Regions from separate parts of the Homo sapiens genome. Here regions 1, 2, 3 and 4 are each linked to region 5. Evidence: promoter capture Hi-C in 16 types of primary human blood cells and fetal thymus (Javierre and others, 2016). All regions are on one chromosome and are shown on one strand. The core of a region is centred on a gene start or on the middle of the fragment in contact, and the rest is flanking DNA. Distances in the headings are between cores, read along the strand shown.

Region 1 (2,982 bases), core at 160-2,659, 210 kb before region 5:
ACATAGAGCTATGATCATGCCACTGTGCTTCCAGCCTGGGCAACAGGGTGAGACTCTGTCTGAAAAAAAAAACAAAAACAAAAAACAAACCAACAAACAAACAAAAAACCCACTGGATATTTGCCAATTTTTTCTATTTCTTTGTCTGAGAGTACTCCCAATTGGTCCCACCAAAAGGTGGCTAAAACTTGCACAGAAACCTTGCTAGCTAAGAAATCGGAAGACAAAATTCAAAGCAATAACAGCAGAGAAGTGAAAGGAGAAATAGTGGAAAGGAAATAGCCGCAGAAGGGAGACTCAAATTCTACATATAAACTCTGCCCAAATCTCTGGCCAGCCTCTAAAATATACATATGTTGGATAGATACCAAGAAATCTAGCTCGAGCTAAAAGAACTAAACAGATTTCAGTTGCCACACCACAGAGGAAAAGAATTTAGAAACTGAAATCAACTAGGTTAATTGCCTGCTAAAACACAAAATCAATACTCTTTAGAGTAACATAAGAGAATGCAGAGTCTCTATATCATTCACAATATGCACAACATGATCCAAAATTACAAGACATAAGAAAAAATGGGAAAATATGACTCATATACAAGAAAAATGACAATCAATGGAGACTCCTAAGATGATTTATATGTTGGAATTAAGAAACAAAAGTTTTAAAACAGCCATTATAATTACGCTCAAATATATAAAGGAAATATACTCATAACAAATGAGCAGAAAGAAAATCACAACAGAGAAATAGAAAAGAACCAAATGAAAATACTAGAATTACAAAATATAATATCTGCAATTTTAAAAACTCACTGATGGGCTTAACAATGAATTGGAAATGACAAAGGAAAGGGTCAGTAAATGTGAAGATAGATCAAAAGAATTACCCAATCTAAAAACAGAAAAGTCTGGGGGTGGTGGCTCATGCCTGTAATCCCAACACTTTGGGAGGCCGAGGCGGGCAGATCACCTGTGGTCAGGAGTTCAAGACCAGCCTGGCCAACATGGTGAAACCCCGTCTCTGCTAAAAATACAAAATTAGCCGGGCATGGTGGTGAGTGCCTGTAATTCCAGCTACTCTGGAGGCTGAGACAGGAGAATCGCTTGAACCCGGGAGGCGGAGGTTGCAGTCAGCCGAGATTGTGCCACTAGACTCCAGCCTGGGCAACAAGAATGAAACTCTGTCTCAGAAATAAATTAAAAATATAAATAAAAACAGAAAAAAAATTGAAAAAGAGGAGAGCCTCCAGGACTTGTGAGAAAGCAAAGAATAACATGTATAACATACACGTAATTATAGTCCCAGAGGAAGAGAAAAGAGAAGGAATGGGACACAAAAAATTTCTGAAGAAATAATGAGAGGAAGATTACCAAACTTGCTAAAGGACATACATTTAAAGATTCAGTAAACCCCAAGCAGGATAAATACAAAGAAAACTATACCTATGTACATCTTACCCAAACTGTTGAAACCCAAAGACAAAAAAAAAAATCTTGGAAGCATCAGAGTAAAGCACTCATTATATACAGGAAAACAATACAGATGATAGCTGATTTCTCATTAGGAAAAAAAAAAAAAAGAAGCCAGAAGAGAGTAAAAAAAAAATTTTTTTTTTTTTGAGACAGAGTTTCGCTCTTGTCACCCAGCCTGGGGTGCAATGGCTTGATCTCGGCTCACTGCAACCTCCACCTCCCAGGTTCAAGTGATTCTCCTGCCTCAGCCTCCTGAATAGCTGGGATTACAGGCACACACCACCACGCCCAGCTAATTTTGTATTTTTAGTAGAGACAGGATTTCACCGTGTTGGCCAGGCTGGTCTCAAACACCTGACCTCAGGTGATCTGCCCGCCTCTGCCTCCCAAAGTGCTAGAATTACAGGTGTGAGCCACTGTGTCCGGCCAAGAGTAAAATATTTTTAAGGTGCAAAAGGAAAAATGGTAAAACCTAGAGCTAGGATTCTATATCTAGTAAAAATATCCTTCAAGACTGAAGGCAGAATAAAGACGTTTTCTTATAAATGAAAACTAACAATGTTTGCTGTCTGCACCACAAGAAATGCTTAAGAAAGTTTTTCAGGCTAACAGGAAATGATAGCAGATGGAAATTTGGATTTCCCAAAACATTCTTTACAAATGGTAACTAGATGGGTAAATATAAAAAACAATATTTATTATTTTTCTCTAAAATACGTATCACTGTTGAAAGTAAAAATTATAGCATCATAATTGAGGGGTTTAAATCATGTGTATATGGAATATATATAACACCTGTAGTATAAAGGAGGAAGTTGATGGTAAAGCACAGATGGCCAGTGAAAGCGAAACTCCCTGGCAGACTTCATTTTTTATGTATAACTTACATTTAGTAAAGTGCAAAGATCTAAGTGTGCACTTGATGAATTTATGCGCATAACCACCACCGAGATCAAGATTTAAAATATTCTGACTCCCCCAAAACGTTCCCTTGTGTCCCTTCCCATTTGATGCCACTCATCTCGCCTCTATCACCATAGATTAGTGTTACCTGTAGACACCCATTTTCTCCATGTTTCCTTTTCCCACTTCTCAGTCCTCTGTTTTCCCTTGTTGCCTTTAGGGCTGTATTGGCACCTCTGTCAAAGGCTCATTAGAGGGATATGTATATCTATTCCTCAGAGCTACATAGATAAATTAATTTCTAAAACAAATTAATTTCTATTCCTCAGAGCTACATAGATAAATTAATTTCTAAAACAAGAGGCATGGAGCCGAGGAAGACAAAAGGGAGTATGAGTAGAAGAACGGGATTCTTCCCTGAACATGCCCTGCTTACTAGCTACATGGAATGAAAACAAGCACCACTTATGTTTCATCGAAACTCCACTTTCTCCAACAAGCCTGTAAAAGCCATGGAGTCTGCCTGTCATGATCCAGCAGGCAGGACTTCTGGTCCCAACTTTCTCAGATTTTACAGCCTCTGTAAGTGTGCTTCAAAGCTCTT
Region 2 (2,730 bases), core at 36-2,535, 230 kb before region 5:
TCCCCTACTTCATCACATTACCAAGCCCAAAGTTGTGTATTAGTTAGCTTTCAGTATGTAATCACTACTCCAAATCCTAGTGGCTTAAAACAACAGCCATTTATTTAGTTCATAGTTCTGTGGATTGGTCAGCAATTTGGGTTGGACTCCACTGGTTTACCGTCATGCTGCTTCCTAGCTAGGTGGCTCTATTTCTGAGGCTAAGGTGGTCAACAGAGGCTACAGGGATATCTGACCCATCATCATCCTGCAGGCTAGCCTAGACTTGTTCTTGAATGCCTCTCATGGTTCCAAGAGGAAGAGCAAAAGTACATAAGGCCCCTTGAAGACTAAGCTCAAAAGTGGCTTAGTTCACCTCCCTAGCATTCTATTGGCCAATGCATGTCACAAGTTCAGCCAAATTCAGGGGTCAAGGAAATAGACATCATCTTTGCATGGGAGTAGCTGCAGCTACATTGCAAAGGGTCATGGATTTAGAGAGGGAAATAATTATGGCCCTTTTTGAAAAAAAAAAAAACAACTATGCATCAGGGGTTTGGGGAAAGGGCCGCCATTCCTGTTCCTTTCCTTACACCTTACTCTGCTTTTCTCACTGCTGTCTACTCAGCAATTCACCCAAATCTCCTCAAGTTTTTGCTTCTCAACTCTGCAAAACTCTTCTGAAATGATCTGGTCAACAAGATTTTAGACAGCTATCTCTCTCTGCTTAGCATTTTTCTGAATGTCAAATATCTTGCTGAGACAAGACAACATTAGGAAAATAACAGACTTCCAGAGCCTTAGGAATCCAGTGTGGGTTTATTTTTTTCTAAATTAACAATACAGTTTTCATAGAGTCCAAAACCCAAACCACTCTGATATTCTTGGCACACTATTTGTTCTCAATAGCTTCAAGCTTACTTTTAAATCCTTTGTGATCCTACTGGAAATCATTAAACAGTGAGTCATAGAAACTCTCTGATGGCCTCCAATAATTATTTTACCATCCACACCAGAAAATTTTTAAGTTCCATTTTACAAATTTAATCTATTGCTGAGATTATTTGTTGGGAGGGTCTCCATTTTTTCCTTACTGTGTCTCAGGGTCAGTGAGTCCCTGGCACTCGAAGCCCTTTGAGGGCCAGCTGCTATGGTATGATAAACCAAGATGCCTCCTGAAAAACACTCATTGCTGCTGCTTCTGCCCTTTTGTACATACTGGAATTTGTTCTGAGATGTCCCTCGCTTCTCCTTTTATAAATATCCATCTTTCAGAGCTTCAAAACAGAAGATCATACTTAGCTCAAAGCTGGAGCTTGTGCTGGGGAATTGAGCTGCTTAAACCCAGGTCTCCATGTATATCTGAGTGCTTAATAAACATTGAAAATGCATAGCACCAAGCTCCACAATTCAAGTCATAGTAGAAATTACTTGAAAGACTTGTAGAATTTCTTTGCAAGTTTTTAACATATCTACATCTCCTTTACCAATTGTTATCTTCCTTCTTGTCCCGAAGAGGCAGCCCTACTCCTCTTAATGACCCATCCCACTGTGTCTTTATATCACCCCATCCACACCACAAATATCACAGCCATAGTTTCCCCTCTCTTCTCTGAATTTTAATCTCTCCTACCTTAGATCTATGCCATCTGCCTACAGACATGATCAAGAGTTTCTGTGCCCAAAATAAGCTTTCTTTCAACTGACCTGCTGCCGTATTTTGGCTACCTCTCTACCCTTCACAGCCCCACTTCACCTCCTATCCACAACTAAGCACACTATAATTTGTCTTCAGCTCCCCACCACTCCTCTGAATAAACAATGTACAAATCAAATGACCTCTTCTCAGTCTCCCACTTGTCCTCTTGGCAGCATGTCATTCTTTATAACAGTATCGGGCTGGCATGGTGGCTCACACCTATAATCCCAGCACTTTGGGAGGCCAAGGTGGACAGATCACCTGAGGTCAGGAGTTCAAGACCAGCCTGACCAATGTGGTGAAGCCCCGTCTCTATTAAAAATACAAAATTAGCCAGGCATTGTAGCACATGCCTGTAACCCCAGCTACTCAGGAGGCTGAGGCAGGAGAATCACTTGAACCCAGGAGGCAGAGGTTGCAGTGAGCCAAGATTGCACCATTGTACTCCAGCCTGGTCAACAAGAGTGAAACTCCATCTCAAAAATATAAACTAATTAATTAATTAATTAATAACAGTCTACTTCGTTAAGCTTCATTAAGAACTCAAGAGACTTCTGAGACACTGCCTTCTCCTAAGTCTCCTCCAACTTCTCTGCTCTTTCCTGGTTTCTTCCAGAGACTCCTCTTCCTCCACTTCAGTCTCAAACATTGGCCTTCTTTGCTTATTCTAAACTCTCTCTAGGCAAGATTCCTTTTCCCTAACCATCTTACTGAACATCTCATACTAGATGTCCCACAAGCATTTTAACTTAACACTTCCCAAGCCAAACTTATTTTCTTCCTCCTCACAGCCTCCCAACTTAACTCATTTCTCTTCTTGCATTCCTCAACTTAGTTAACAGAAACACCATTGATTGTCTCCCCAGTATTCATTCACTCTTTCTATAGTAATAAAAGTTTTATCTGTGTATACAGCTATCTAGTTAAAGACCACGTTTCCCACAATCCCTAGCAACTAGGTGTGATCATGTGACTAGGTAATGGCAAATGGGATGTGAGCATAAGTAGTGCAACTTCCAGGTCATGCCCTATTAGCCAATGTGTATTCTGTT
Region 3 (2,718 bases), core at 53-2,552, 250 kb before region 5:
AGTGCAGTGGCCCTTCACAGGGGCAATCTTACTACTGACAGAACCAGAGTTTTGACCTGCTCCGTTTCCAACCCGGGCCGGTTCACCCCTCCTTAAGCAAGTTGGTGGTCCCCTGCTCCCAGGAGGTCACCATATTAATGCTGTATTTAGTGTGGACCCCCAATTGGCATATCACATTTCAGCCCAGAACTCCTGGGCTCAAGGGACCTGCCTGCCTCAGCCTCCTGAATAGCTGAGACTACAAGCATGTGCCACCATGGCCAGCTTTCTTTCTATATTTCCTAGCTCTGCCCACTGAAACTGCCCAAAATAATGATGACTTCAGTAGCAATGAGTATCCTAACACCATATTTTTATCTCCAAATATAATTTTACACTAAACTGAACCAGGGCTCTTTGGATAAATGTTTGATTCCAGGTCTGGGACCAGAAAGTTAGAAATTGGTCCTGAAACATCTTGTCAACACAGATAGCAATAATGTTATCAAAGACTATTGGAGTGTCAAAAGGACCCAGGAATATACCTGAAGAGGCTCCCACTGGCCAAAGAAGGGAAAATTTGAGTGTCAATGAGGATAATAATGGCAACACATTGAAACATTAAAAATTCTTAAATCCATGAGTTTACTAACATACTATGGGGAAGAAAGAAGAAAACAAATTGCCACTATTGGAGGATGCTAAGGAACCAAATTTTGTTTAGAGAATTGGTCAATAAAGGGAAGAAAATCAAGCATGTATCCCCTTTCCTATATGAGTTGTATCAATGGATAACCGAAAGTAGATGACAATGAATCTCTCTTTATGAAAGTATTCTAGCTAACAATCAATCAAACTAACAAACAAAATATTCTAGCTAACAAACAAAAATGATAGAATTAGAATATCAGCATTCTCCAATCCCTAATGAATTAATGGAGCTAGACATTTTATACTAACAAATAATAATGTCACAAAGAGACACAGCAGATATTATAGGGCTCCTAACACAATGCCACCTACAAACTTGCCTTGCCCAAATACCTGAAGGTGAATTGGGTCAAATCTCCTGATTTAACTACTAACTAACAGGATGTACAGGGGACAGATGCGCATGGTAAACAACATGCTTGGGATGCAATCAGCAAAATCCAGGCTGAAAACTATACAGGACAAACAACCTGGTTTCTTTTTTTTTTTTTTTCTTTTCCTTTTTCTTTTTTTTTTTTTTTTTTTTTTTTTTTTTTTTTGAGACGGAGTCTCGCTCTGTCTCCCAGGCTGGAGTGCGGTGGCGCAATCTTGGGTCACTGCAACCTCTGCCTCCCGGGTTCACACCATTCTGCCCCCTCAGCCTCCCGAGTAACTGGGACTAGAGGCGCCCGCCACCACGCCCGGCTAATTTTGTTTTTGTATTTTCAGTAGAGATGGGGTTTCACCGTGTTAATCAGGATGATCTCGATCTCCTGACCTCGTGATCCTCCCGCCTTGGACTCCCAAAGTGCTGGGATTACAGGCGTGAGACACCACGCCCGGCCAACAACCTGGTTTCTTTAACAAATAAATTATAAAGAAAAAAAAGAAAAGCTGGACGGGAAACCTATAGATTTAAAAAAAAAAAAAAAAAAAGTAAGAGACATTTCAGCCAATAATATGTGTACGAGGCCGGGCGCTGTGGCTCACGTCTGTAATCCCAGCACTTTTGGTGGCCGAGGTGGGCGGATCATGAGGTCAGGAAATCAAGACCGTCCTGGCTAACATGGTGAAACCCAGTCTCTACTAAAAATACAGATCAGCCGGGCGTGGTGGCGAGCGCCTGTAGTCCCAGCTACTTGGGAAGCTGAGGCAGGAGAATGGCGTGAACCCGGGGAGGCGGAGCTTGCAGTGAGCCGAGTTCACGCCACTGCACTCCAGCCTGGGCGACAGAGCGAGATTCCGTCTCAAAAAAAAAAAAAATAATACTAATGATAATATGTGTACTTATGTGGATCCGAATCCAAAAGAAAAAGACAATTAGAAGTATGAACCCTGATGGATATTGATGATATGAAGGCTCCAGTGACTCCTGTGTATATTGTGTATATTTCTAGCCAGTGATTCCAAATTTTAATTAATTTCATAAGTATTCAGCAAGTTCAGTAAGATAAAAATTCAAAAAAATTCTTTGTTTGGCTGTTATTGCCTATATCTATATTTTTTATAAAAATTTTTTCTGTTTTCAGTTTTGTTCTTAATTAACAAGTTTTATTTTTATTTGTTAACAAAATTGCAAGGATATAGTGTTAGTAAATTTTATTTTAGTTCTACAATATAGATAATTTAAAATTAATTAGCTTTAATTCACTTTTAAAAAGAAAATAATATTTAAAAACCACATGTGTAAAAAAACTAGATGGGTAGATACATGATGAAAAGAGCCAGTATCGAAAAGATAATTATCCTCCAAATTAATCTACAAACATAATTCAAGTCCAGTCAAAATCCCAGCAAGATTTTTCATGTGACAAGGTAAATCTTTAATTTATACAGAAAATTAGAGGTCTAAGAAAAGCCAAGATAATTCTGAGCAAAGAGCTCTTCCCTGCTAGGTAACAAAATTTATTATAAAGCTATAGTAACTAAGACAGTGGGATATTGGCACAAAGATGGATAAATGGGTTAAGGAAACGGAATAGAAAGTACAGAAAGAGACCTATGTATATATGGGAACTTAGTACAAGTGGTCAAAATTAATGGGGGAAA
Region 4 (3,061 bases), core at 237-2,736, 180 kb before region 5:
TAAAAATACAAAAATCAGCCAGGCATGGTGGTGGGTGCCTGTAGTCCCGGCTACTCAGGAGGCTGAGACAGGAGAATTGCTTGAACCTAGGAGGCGGCGGTTGCAGCAAACCAAGATTGTGCCATTTCACTCCAGCCTGAGTGACAGAGCAAGACTTCGTCTCAAGAAAAAAAAAAAAAAAAAAGGAAAGAAATGATGGAGGGGGCACGTCTGTCCTTCCAAACCCTGGTTCTTGCAAACTAAAAGCTTTCTGATGGCCGGGCATGGTGGCTCATACCTGTAATTTCAGCACTTTGTGGGGGCCAAGATAGGTGCATTACTTGAGTTCAGGAGTTTGAGACCAGCCTGGCCAACTTGTGAAACCCCAACTCTACTAAACATACAAAAATTAGCCAGGTGTGGTGGTGTGTGCCTGTAGTCCCAGCTACTCAGGAGGCTGAGGTGGGAAAATTGCTTGAACCTGGGAGGCAGAGGTTGCAGTGAGCCATTGCAGTCCAGCCTGGGCAACAGAGTGAGACACTGTCTCGAAAAAATAAATAAATGAAATAAATAAAAACTCTTTGGCTCCTAGGTCATTGTATCTGCTACAGACTCTTCACCAAATTTGGGAAGTTTTCAGACATTATTTTATCAAGTATTCTTTTGCATAGTTCTCTCTCTTCTCTCCTTTTGGAACTCCCATTATGCATATGTTGGCATGCTTGATTGTGTCCTACAGGTTTCTAAGGCTCTGCTCATTTTCTTTATTCCTTTTTCTTTCTGTTCATCAAACAGAAAAATTTCAGCTGATCATCACATTTGCTGATTCTTTCTTCTACCTACTCAGATCTTCTGTTGAGCTCTTCTAATGAAAGTTTCATTTCAGTTATACTTCTAACATCCAAAATTTATATTTTGTTCTTTTTCTAAATAATCTCTATCTGTTTATTGATATTCTATACTTGGTGAGACATCATTACCATACTTTACTATAGTTCTCTGAACATATTTTAAAGTAGGTGGTTTAGATCATGCCCACCCAGGGATGCAAAAAAAAAAGAAAAGAAAAGCTGATTTAAAGTCTTTAGTCTAAAGTCCTGTGCCTGAGCTTCTTCAGGGAGCATTTCTGTTGACTACTTTTTTTTTCCTGTGTTTGGGCCATACTTTTTATTTGAAAGTCTAGAAATATTTGTTAACCACTAAACTAGACATATAAAATACAAATAAATAAAATATAAATTTAAAATGTGGTAACTCTGGAAATTAGATTCTTTGCCCTGCTCAGGATTTGTTGTTGCTGGTTTCTATTTGCTGTTGTTTAGTGACTTTTAAGAACTAATTTTTTAATATTTGTATTCTTGAGGCCGGGCATGATGCCTCACACCTGTAATCCCAGCACTTTGGGAGGCCAAGGCGGGTGGATCATCTGAGGTCAGCAGTTCGAGACCAGCCTGGCCAACATGATGAAACCCCATCTCCACCAAAAGTATAAAAAATTAGCCAGGTGTGGTGGCTGGCACCTGTAGTCCTAGCTACTCGGGCGGCTGAGGCAGGACAATCACTTGAACCTGGGAGGCAGAGGTTGCAGTGAGCCAAGATCATGCCACTGCACTCCAGCCTGGGTGAAAGGGTGAGACTCTGTCTCAAAAAAATAAAATAAAATAAAATTTGTATTCTTTTTTATGTATGGCTGGTAAGTCTCTGCTCAGTTAGCTTAGTGTTCCTCTAGTGATTGGACAGAGATTTTCTTACACTTTTGGAATGGATACTTCTCCCAGTCTTTGCTGAAGGGCTCTGTGTGCATATTGGGGCTGCCTTCAATATTTAGCCAGGCAGTTGACAACTTTGCCTTAGGCTTCACTTTCTGTAGGGCCTCAAGGGCAGCCAGAGGTGACAGCTTAAGGTTTTCTCAGGTCTTTCCCGAGCATACACACAGCTCTTGTTAGCAGCAGCAAATCCATACAAATCTGCAGCACCTCAATTCTTGCCTCCTCAGACGAAATAATTCACCTGAGGGATATAAGGCAGACCAAGGCAAGTTTTAGAGCAGGAGCGAGAGTGAACGTTTATTTAAAAATTTTAGAGCAGGAACAAAAAGGAGGACAAGCAGGAGACTTCAGAGATCCAAGTGCACTGTTTGACCTTTGACTTGGGGGTTGTATGTTGGCATGCTTCTGGGGTTTTACGTCTCTTCTCCCTTGATTTTTCCCTTAGTGTGGGCTGTCTGCATGTGCAGTGGCCTGCCAGCACTTGGGAGGGGCCACATGCACAGTGTCTTTACTAAAGTTGTGCACATGCTTATTTGAGGCATTTTTCCCTTACCAGTCAAGTGTTCCTAAAGGAAGGTCATATACCAGCTAAACTTCATCATTTTGCCCCTTAGTGCGCATGCTTGAGCCTACTCGCCCAGCTCCTGAGATCTTATCAGGAAGCTGCTGATCACCAGTTTCAGGTGTTTTGTGTCTATTGGGAGCCAGCCTTTCCCTGGCACTGGCTGCAACCAATTATTATTTTAGACAGACAGTTCAACAACTATCTGACCATCACCTGATGGTTGCCTGACATTCCTGGTGGGGTGGGAGGCCCACTCCTGCCCTGCTCCTGTCTGCCTAGCTACTTGCTCTAAAACTCTTAGCATGCACAGAGCCCTACACATGCACATGACCTTCTAAATTCCCCGGAAATATGCCAGGGCTTTTCAAAATCCCTGTAAACATCTCACTCCTCAGTTTTTCCTTTTAAGCTTTTTGTTTAACCTATTGTTTGCCCCAGCTGTTATCCATTACCTCAGGCAGCCAAATAGCTAAACAATCACGTTTAAATATTTTCAACAAAAACCCATCTCAGGGGGAAAAGGTCTTTTGCAGTGACACTGAATCAGCCCCAAGTTAGGTTAAATACAGACAGTCTTGTAAATAGGTCTTCCAGAGAACCACCAGATGGATCAGATAATGACAATTTTCTTTGAGTGAGGCATTAAAGGCGCTACAACTCTGTTCTGCCTACTCCAATGGCTACCACACTGCTGGTTTTCATTGTGATTGTGAGCTCTTAGTTCTCAGGCTGCCATGAGACTGAAGAG
Region 5 (2,753 bases), core at 7-2,506:
TACAATAGAACTCAAGGTCTTACTTTTTGTGGTCCAGAACAGCGCTGTCCAACAGAACTTTCTGTAATGATAGAAATGTCCTATATCTGCACTATCTAAAATGGTAGCTGCAGCCACATGTGATGATTGAGCACTTGAAATGTGGTTAGTGCAACGGAGAAACTGAATTTTTATTTAATCTTACTTTATTTTAACTCAAATTTAAATAGCCACATGTGGTGAGTGACTAACACATTGGACAATACAGCTCTAGGGCTTATCTTCTTACCAACTACACTATGTCTTGCAATTTCTTGCCATCTAGGTAGCCAACATGAGGAGGTCTATAAGATATCCCACCACACACACCCGCATCCACATTACTTTTTCATTCTCATTTTTCATGACGCTCCCACTCTTTGTCTACTTTCTGATTATGATTTTTAAATTCCTCTAATATGCCATTTTATTTCTATCTTCTGGGCCGAAGAAACATGCTGTTCTCTCTGCCCTCCTCGCCCTAATCCTTAACCTAACTTCTACTCATTTTTCAGGTCTCAGCGAAAGGGTCACTTTCTCCAAAAAGCCTCCGCTAACCCCCGACAACCTATATTAGGTTCTTCCCACTCTTCTGTTGTCTGCCTAGAACTCTTTTCCTTGCTAACACTTAAAATTTGTGATCGTCAGTTTATCTATGTTTACCGACTTTCTTGACTGCAGAAACTGAATCTGTTTTGTTTACCACTGCATCTTGGTACCTAACGGAGTGCTTGGCGCACAGTATTTGTGAGATGGAAAAATGAGAGACTGGGCCACATCATCAGGACATCCGACCTCCACCAACCAGAACTTAAAAATCCTCCTAGCCATACCACAAGGCAGATCCGCGTCCTCGCTCCCCAAGCAAAGTTGGCCTCAACTGATCTGGAGCAAGGACGCCTCAGCTCAGTACGCCGCTCCCTCCCTCCTCTCCAGCCAGGGAAGGGATGCCTACGTAACCTCGGCTTCATCCCTTCTTCAAAGGGGAATGAGGCAGCGGTAGAGCCACAGTGCGCATCGGCCACCACATACCTTAGACATCGAGGACGTAGCCATGGTCTTACTGACTCTGCGTATTCCAGATGCACTCGGGATTTCCCGCGCGCCCTCGCGGCTGCAGGGCAGAGGTTAGTGGCGAGCCACACGGCTCCTTGATTGGCTGGCATCACCCTCCGGGGCGGGTTTCCGGCGCGGGGAGGCGGGTCGTATAAGGAGGTGGGGCGAGGCCGGAACTGGCGGACTGCGGCGCACTTCCGTAGAGGTGGACATGGCGTGCGGCTTTCGCCGCGCTATTGCTTGCCAGGTATGGATCCCGGAGCGCGCAGAGGAGTCCCTGAGGAGCTAGGGACCCCAAAGGCCTTTCACCGCTGCGGGCCAGTCCTCAGTCAGCTGGAGGGTGGGTCCCACGGAATCCTGTTAGTTTCTACCACCTCCTCCCCCTTCTCTGGAGCTGGTGGAGCTTCAGAAGTCCTGTGGAGCGTCGGCTGGGATCAGTTTGTCTCGGTGAAAAGTAAACTTTGAAAGGTACCTGGTGCTTTCTTCTCTCCTTCCCACCCCACAGCTATGAATGCTTTACCTGGGTGGCGGCAAGTCATTAGACCATGATTAGACCCCATAGAAGTTAGTGTTCTTTACACTTTAGTGACATTGATGATGGATCTGGATTGTTCTTCAGAAGGACCTCATTTTAAAGCTGCTTATTTCTCTTGCAGTCACTTAGGCAGCCTACCCTAGAATTGTTTTTGGTAACGCCCAAAGATATAAGAGCTATCTGAGACTCAGTTTTTCTTGGTTCAGGGTCGTATTTGAACAGCTCTGTTGTGAGGAAGGGCTTACAAAATTGCAATATAATTGCTTTGTTTTGTTTTTCCTTTTTGTGGAGAACGGGGTCTCGCCGTATTGCCCAGGCAGGCCTCAAACTCCTGGGCTCAAGCTGTCCTCCCTCCTCTGCTTCCCTAAGAGCCGGGATTACAGGCCTGAGCCACCGCGCTGGGCAAAATTGCAGTATAAATGTGGAATTAATCAAAAAGAATTTTTAAGACTCATTGGCCACCCTTGCAAGGAAACTTTCTATTGTGGTCTTGGCTAACCCATTTCCTTCTGATTAATGGATGTACTAGTGGACGTAATTAGCCTGGTGTATAATTTATCTTGGCTCATTTTTACAGTATTTCTAGACATTTGTGGGGAAATCCCTCTGCCTTGTCTTTATGTTTATAGATGTACTGCCCTGTCCGGTGATAATTCGCCAAATATCACCAACATGACATTTTGTTAAGACAGCTGAATTTATTGCTCACTGGGATAAGGAAGAACACCACTGAGAGCTTTGGTAGTGTATTAAACTGGGAAAGCAAGGTCAGATTTTACTGATGGGTATGGCTTAAGGCTGGTCTTTCAGAGGGAGAGGGTAGGAGGGTGTTGGAGGAAGATGGCTTGATTAGGGTTGGACTCTGATCTGATACAGCGGTTTAAGATTGATAGGAAAAGCAAAGAGTGCAAGAAGCCTTAAGGCATAAACTATTGAGGTTTTCTATTGGAAGAACTAATAGGCCTGGCATGTGGTTCATGCCTATAATCCCAGCACTTTGGGAGGCCAAGGTGGGAGGATGGCTTGAGCCCAGGAGTTCGAGACCAGCGTGGACAACATAGGTAGACCCCGTCTCAACAAAATTTTTTTTAAAAAGTAGCCAGGCATGATGGTGCACCTCTGTAGTCCTAGCTGCTTGAAAGGC

Evidence for each region. Contacts are between HindIII fragments. The CHiCAGO score rates a contact against its expected background, and 5 or more counts as called.
Region 1: a contact is called between a fragment that was not itself captured here and the fragment with the promoter of RARS2 in region 5, in 1 of 17 cell types (neutrophils). The highest score is 5.5, in neutrophils.
Region 2: a fragment that was not itself captured here is called in contact with the fragment with the promoter of RARS2 in region 5 in 1 of 17 cell types (neutrophils); the score reaches 5.6 in neutrophils.
Region 3: a contact is called between a fragment that was not itself captured here and the fragment with the promoter of RARS2 in region 5, in 1 of 17 cell types (neutrophils). The highest score is 5.1, in neutrophils.
Region 4: a contact is called between a fragment that was not itself captured here and the fragment with the promoter of RARS2 in region 5, in 1 of 17 cell types (neutrophils). The highest score is 5.2, in neutrophils.

Annotation. Positions count from the first base shown.
Region 1 is chr6:87,799,190-87,802,171 of GRCh38, reverse strand. All of the region lies in intron 2 of LOC101928911 (a long non-coding RNA gene), which reads right to left. Among named protein-coding and RNA genes, the nearest start is that of AKIRIN2, 98 kb to the right of the region's middle. RefSeq lists enhancers at 2,239-2,308, 2,947-2,982. The HindIII fragment of the contact is 4,103 bases long and covers 1-2,982 here.
Region 2 is chr6:87,815,587-87,818,316 of GRCh38, reverse strand. All of the region lies in intron 2 of LOC101928911 (a long non-coding RNA gene), which reads right to left. Among named protein-coding and RNA genes, the nearest start is that of AKIRIN2, 110 kb to the right of the region's middle. The HindIII fragment of the contact is 775 bases long and covers 898-1,672 here.
Region 3 is chr6:87,843,197-87,845,914 of GRCh38, reverse strand. All of the region lies in intron 2 of LOC101928911 (a long non-coding RNA gene), which reads right to left. It also overlaps the pseudogene RN7SL183P. Among named protein-coding and RNA genes, the nearest start is that of AKIRIN2, 140 kb to the right of the region's middle. The HindIII fragment of the contact is 5,348 bases long and covers 1-2,718 here.
Region 4 is chr6:87,772,598-87,775,658 of GRCh38, reverse strand. No RefSeq gene overlaps it. Among named protein-coding and RNA genes, the nearest start is that of AKIRIN2, 72 kb to the right of the region's middle. The HindIII fragment of the contact is 2,476 bases long and covers 249-2,724 here.
Region 5 is chr6:87,588,490-87,591,242 of GRCh38, reverse strand. It overlaps RARS2 (arginyl-tRNA synthetase 2, mitochondrial), which reads left to right and starts at 1,256. Exons shown (of 20, transcript NM_020320.5): 1 at 1,256-1,321. The coding sequence starts at 1,286. ORC3 (origin recognition complex subunit 3) reads right to left here and starts at 1,108. Exons shown (of 20, transcript NM_012381.4): 1 at 1,051-1,108. The coding sequence starts at 1,074. RefSeq lists enhancers at 1,172-1,401, 1,165-2,126. The HindIII fragment of the contact is 3,839 bases long and covers 1-2,753 here.